Linked DNA regions of Homo sapiens: region 1 is linked to region 2. The links are contacts of gene promoters, found by promoter capture Hi-C in blood cells and fetal thymus (Javierre and others, 2016). All regions are on one chromosome and are shown on one strand. Each heading gives the region's core, a stretch centred on a gene start or on the middle of the fragment in contact. The rest is flanking DNA. Distances are from core to core; before and after follow the strand shown. Region 1 has its middle 35 kb from the start of LINC01544. Region 2 holds the start of RNF152 (ring finger protein 152).

The links. The method cuts DNA at HindIII sites, captures the fragments that hold promoters and counts their contacts. A CHiCAGO score of 5 or more calls a contact.
Region 1: a contact is called between a fragment that was not itself captured here and the fragment with the promoter of RNF152 in region 2, in 1 of 17 cell types (M0 macrophages). The highest score is 5.7, in M0 macrophages.

What each region holds. Positions count from the first base shown.
Region 1 is chr18:61,711,309-61,714,201 of GRCh38, reverse strand. No RefSeq gene overlaps it. Among named protein-coding and RNA genes, the nearest start is that of LINC01544, 35 kb to the left of the region's middle. The HindIII fragment of the contact is 2,905 bases long and covers 1-2,821 here.
Region 2 is chr18:61,891,499-61,894,463 of GRCh38, reverse strand. RNF152 (ring finger protein 152) reads left to right here and starts at 1,457. Exons shown (of 2, transcript NM_173557.3): 1 at 1,457-1,669. RefSeq lists silencers at 1-51, 122-271. The HindIII fragment of the contact is 8,244 bases long and covers 1-2,965 here.

The DNA of each region.
Region 1 (2,893 bases), core at 120-2,619, 180 kb after region 2:
CCAGTTCAGTTATAAGGTAAGTATGGCCAGCCATGAGTTCTACAAGCCCATAACCATCCCGAAGCAGAAGGGTAGGCACTCATTTTTGGCAAATTATTTTGCCATCCCATCCAAATCTGGTCTGTTAGAAGAAGGGTCTGATTACGTTGTTGAAATGACAGCCATCTCGTATCCTGGGTTTCAGTCTGGTGGTGACTATTGTTGTGCCTTTCGAAACCTGGAGGTGCCTTGCCCGACACCTGCCCTTGAACAGTTGTTATTCACCCAAGTTCATTATGTAAAGCATAACCTAAAGCTGGGGTGGAGTTTAGCTGTTTTTGATTAGATTTAAAAAGTGCCTTCTTGTCTCTTTATAGGAGGGAAAGGGGCTAAGGCTTGTGTGGCTATGATACATGGAAAAAGAGGAGCTGTGTTTATAATGTTCAGTTTCCCAATCATAATAAAATTCCTATAAACTTGGGTTGGCCAGTTGAATATGCCAGAACAACCTGGAAGTGGAGGAAAGTGGCAATTCTCCACATACCCAACAGTTCATGTGATTATGTAGAGAGGCTAAAGTCTGTGCCCACTTGGTAAATAAGTTACTATCTGCATGATTCCAACTTATACCCAAAAGTAGAATGCCAATCCATATCTTTATGTTACCCATCCCTTTTATTTCTTCTGAACAGCAGTCAGAGGTCACTGGTTGGCTCACAGGAATCAGTCTCTTGTGTTCTGTCGGCCTGTGAGATTTCATAAGAGACAGGTTTAATTCGAGATAAGTGGACCCAGATGTTTATTCCCAGAAGTTTAACTGCAGTTGGGGTACTAAGAAGAATTTGAATAGGGTTCCTTCCATTTTGGGGAAGTTGATCTGCTGGGGATCCTTCCTTCCAAGTGTTTAATGGGACCCAGTTTCCAGGCTGGGTTATAACAAAATTCTCTTCCTTAGTGGGGGAAGGAAGTCTTTGATTTCCATATTCAAGGAGTGCATTTTGCACTTGTCCTAAGTTGATCACATAATTTGTAGCTTGAAAGTATCTATATCTATTAGGAGGTCTGTAGTTAAGAAAGGCCTTCCATAGAAAAGGGCTGAGCTGGAACCCTTAGGGGGCCACTGGAACCCATAATAAGGCTACAAGTAATACATACAGCCAGGTTTCTGATGCCTCTTGGCATAATTTAGCAAGAGTCCTTTTTAGAGTTTGATTAGCTCTTTCTACTTTCCCTGAAAACTGGCCTCCACGCCGAGTGAAGGCAGTACTGAATTCCTAAGGCAAAAGATATGTTTTGGGTAATTGTCGCTGTGAAAAATGGGCCATTATTACTCTGCAAAGTCTTAGGCAGCCCAAATCTAGGAATTATTTCCTTTCGTAGAAGTTTAGCAACCTCAATTGCCTTTTCAGACTGAGTAGAAAAAGCCTCAATCCAACTAGTAAAGGTGTCAATGAATACTAATAAATATTAAAACACTTTACATGGGGGCATTTGAGTATAGTCTATTTGCCAATCTTCACCAGGGTACGTTCCCCTATGCTGAACAGGCCTTACTAGAGGAGGAGGTAAAGATTGGTTATCTGGTTTATTCCAGGTACATAATTCACAGGCCCGAGTTACCTGCTTTACTGTTTTAAGAAAGCCTTTTCCTATAAAAAGCTGCAACATTAATTGAAACAGGGAATCTCTTCCCAAATGAGTAGAGTTATGCAAATGCTTAACTATTTTCCACTGATTAGCATCTGGTATTAACAGTTTGTTGTCATTGATAAGCCAGTCAGAAGGATTTTGAATTAAACCATAACCTTTAGCCCTTTCTTTTTCCTCTTTAGTATACCTAGGTTCTGTCATTACCGTGTGTGAGGGCACTAACATACCTACAAGTCCAGCGGGCTCCTTTAACGCTGTTGCCTTAGCAGCTGCATCTGCAAAGGCGTTTCCCTTAGCCACACTAGAGTCTCCTCTTTGATGTCCTCTGCAATGGATTACAGCTACTTCCTTGGGCAGCAAAACAGCATCTAATAGATTTAGAATTTCTACGTGACGTTTTATTGGGGGAACCCTTAGCAGTTAGGAGTCTCCGTTCCTTCCAGATAGCAGCATGAGAATGAAGTTCCAGAAAAGCATACTTAGAATCAGTGTAAATGCTAATTCTTCAGTCCTTTTCCAATTGCAGGGCTCTAATAAAAACCACTAATTCCAAATTTTGAGCTGAGGTAGAAGCTGGTAGGCCTGAGATTCAATTACCTTGTCTTGACTGACAACAGCATACCCAGCTTTCCCATTTCCCTGGTGCACAAAGCTACTTCCGTCTGTAAACCATTCTACTCAGGATTTTCTAGAGGTTCATCCTTTAAATCTGGATGGCTGGAGTAACTTGTGTACAAGAATAATCTAGGGCACCTGTGGGTGCAGGCAAGTAGGTAGCTGGATTCAATGTCCAGCATACTTTAAGTGTTATATCAGGAGTGTCTAGTAATAAAGCCTGATATTTCAATAAGTGTCCCCCTGTCATTCACTGGTGTCCTTTAGCTTCTAGGATTCCTTGTACTTGGTGTGGGTTTAAAACCTTCAGACTGGTCCTAAAGTCAGTTTATTGGCTTTATCTACCAAGAGAGCAGTTGCAGCAACTGCCCTGAGGCATCCAGGCCATCCCAAAGCGACATGGTCTAATTGCTTAGAAAAATATGCCACTGGTTGGGGAATATCTCCCAACTTCTATACAAGGACACCTAGGGGTGTTCCCTGTTTTTCAGTCATATAGAGGAAAAATGGCTTATTAAGATTAGGGATTCCTAGGGCTGGAGCTGATCCCAATTTCTCTTTGAGGGCATTAAAAGCTTGTTTACAGTTACTATCCCATTCAAAAAGATATACATCTGCTCCTTTCAGAGCCTAATATAAAGGCTTAGCT
Region 2 (2,965 bases), core at 208-2,707:
TTGGTGCCGGAGTCTCAGTGACACAAAAAGCTCTCGCTCGGTGCCGAGCGCCTGGCGGCGGTGTCCGACCGCGAACGCGGAGGGCGGCCGGGCAGGTGGGGGTGCCGCCCGAAGGGCCGGGCCGGGTGCTGGGGCTGCAGGCGCCGCCGCCGCGCTGTCAGCGTCCGCCCCGTGGCTCTCGGCCGGAGGAGCGGCGGCCGCCGGCCCGGGGCGCGAGTCTGGCTGAAAGGAGCGGGCGCGCCGGGACCACCCGGCGATGCTGTCGCCGCCGCCGCCGCCTCTGTAGCGAGCACCCGAGCCCGCCGCGGAGAAAGGTCAGTGAGTTTCGGTTTGTTTCTCTGCTCTGCCGGCTCCGGATCGGGGGCGGACAGAGGGGTGCGCAGGGATGTCTGCGCCCCTACGGCGGCCGCGCCGAAGCCGTGGAAGCGGGAAAGGGCAGCTGCCGCCTGCTGTAACTGGGGAGATCTTCTGGACCGCGGAGGGGGTGGCGGGGCCGCAGGGTCCCGGGGAGGGGAGCGCGGGGTCTGGCGGGGCACGGGGGAGGTGGTCCCGGGAGTTGCGTGTCTCCTGAGAGCTGGCGGAGTTGGGCGGGCGGCCGCGGCGGGGAGCGGCGCTGTCGGCTGCTCGGCCGAGTCCTCGGATGCCCCCTGGAGCTCCGGTCCGAGGGAGCTTTCCTCGTGCCCGCGCCGCGCGCGCCCCTGGGTGTGCACGTGCGCGCGCGCCCGCCCCAGTTGCGCCCCCGGCCCGCACACACCCCGGCTCATCTTCTCCCGGTCCCCTTGTCTCGCGCCTTCTCCAGCCCTAGAAGTTGCCCCAGGGCCCCTCCCGGGATTAGAGAGCGCTGTGAAGGGCCAGATGTTGGGGGTCTTTTGTGCAGACACACGCGCCTGGGGCGCTTGCTCCTGGAAGGACAGCGGCAGGACAAAGCCAGCTGGACTCGTGGGGCGCTGCTCGGGAAGCGGCGGTCCCCAATCCCGCCTGGGGTCGGGGCATGGCTTGGGGAGCGCTGCCTGGGTCTGGAGAGAGTAGAGAAATCGCCAAAGCAGAGTGACGGTGACTTGATGAGGTGACGGTGACTTGATGAGGTGGCGGTGACTTGATGAGGTGGCGGACAGGGGCAAACGAAAGAAAGATGCTCGGGATTGCCGCGCTGTGTGCCTGTCTGCGCGGCTGACTAGGCGCCCCGCATTCCCATATGACCGGGTTACCTGGTAGATTTTGCCAGTGTGTCTTTGCCCCAAGATGTTATTCCCCACCTGCTCCGATTTCTTTCTTTCCTAGGGCTTACTGTTGCTAGTAGGCGCTCTGCCACCAGAGGGGAACTCGTGGGCGGGGGAGACTGCGGAGGAGGGGGGAGGTGGTTATTTATCCTGTAGAGACAATTAGGAGCCGTGACGCCCCCTTCTCGGCCGCCAGCCCTCCACACCTCATCTGCCTTGCTCCACCTCCCTAGTGCACCCGCTCCAGCCCCGTCTGCCCAGGAGGGCGCTTGGATTTCCTTCTCCGCGGCGCGTATCTAACCCTTCCTGCATGTATTTCACTGCAGGCTGAAGAAAGCTCAGTCTCAATTGTGTTTCCTGCCTGTCAGCCTCTTGCCTCCTAAACGTGTACCATTTCCACTTGATGTCATCACGCAGAAGGGGTGAAAGAGACTCGGTGACAGATACAGGTAACCCCCCACGATCTGGGTAGCGCCTGGGTGTCTCTGGGTCATTTGGGCCGACAGTGCTGGCACAGGGCTGTTTGGGTGGTTTCTGCATCAACATCGTTCCTATCTGTGAGAAGGTGTGGGGGCTGCTAAAACTCCTGGTTCAAAGAAATAAATTGCAAATGACTTTATACCTTCCCTTTGAAGAAGCCATTGGAGGTAGGTGCAGGGTGAATTTGGGATTGTAGAAATCCCACCTGGTTTCCTTTCATGGGAATTTTGATATAATTCATACACAGGCAGTTGTATCTGAATGTTAGGTTTCCATAGATGCCTGCTTTCTTATCTGTAGTAATAGATTTAGGCTTCAGTCTAGAGGTGGGGTATCCTTTGTTGAAAAGGTATCATTGGAAGGCTGATTGTACTTTTGCCCAGTGCTCTAATTGAGCACCGGTCAAATGCAGTGACCTTCGTATGAAATACTGTCTTTCTTCTGTTCCTTCATTGTAATAGTGTTTGCAATATTAAGAGAGACATGCTAGCAGTGAGTACTGGGAGGTGGAAGGGAGGGCTGTTGGGGGCAGCAGAAAGAGAACAGAGAAAACAGCTTGAGTGAAGTTTCCATTTAGATAGCCATGAACCAGTAGACTCTCATTCTGGATTTTATCTTTAGGTTATTGGGGCTTTTCCAAAAACTCTGGCCTGTTCTTTTCTTTCCAAGGATAGTTCTGTTTTGATGTCAGCCTAGCCAGATCTGGGGTTATCTTGATAAGAGTGCAATGAAAAAACGTAACCTTCAGACTTAGCAGGACACTCCGGCATTAGCATTTTCTGCTAGAGGGCAGAGTCCTGCGCATCCTACACTAGTAGCAGGGAATAAGAATGGTTATGGAAATGGGCTTTCGATTTTTCTTGTAGGAAGACAGATTGCTGAGGGCCAAAGGCTCCTGGTCTACTCTCTTTTACATTGCAGTAACACCTTGGTATCTGTGACAGATTCTCTCTTCACCATTTTCCTCCAAATCCCTTGAAAAATGAAGTTAAAAACTTGAAAGATTTATTATTCACCTCCAATGTAGTTTTGTTTTGGAAGGTGACTTTAAAAACATAGGTGACACTAGCATTTATCCTTCTACTACAAGCATTCAGGAGTCACTAGTAAAAGCAGTTGAGTTATCTAGTCCCAGGTGAAACAAAGGCCAGTGCTTTGCAAAGATCAGATGAGTAATGTGGTGCTAAGATAGAGGTATTTTTGACAAGTAATTTTTATGTCAGCAATAGTACAGGGTGTGTACTGTGTTGCTGCAAGAAGAAAAA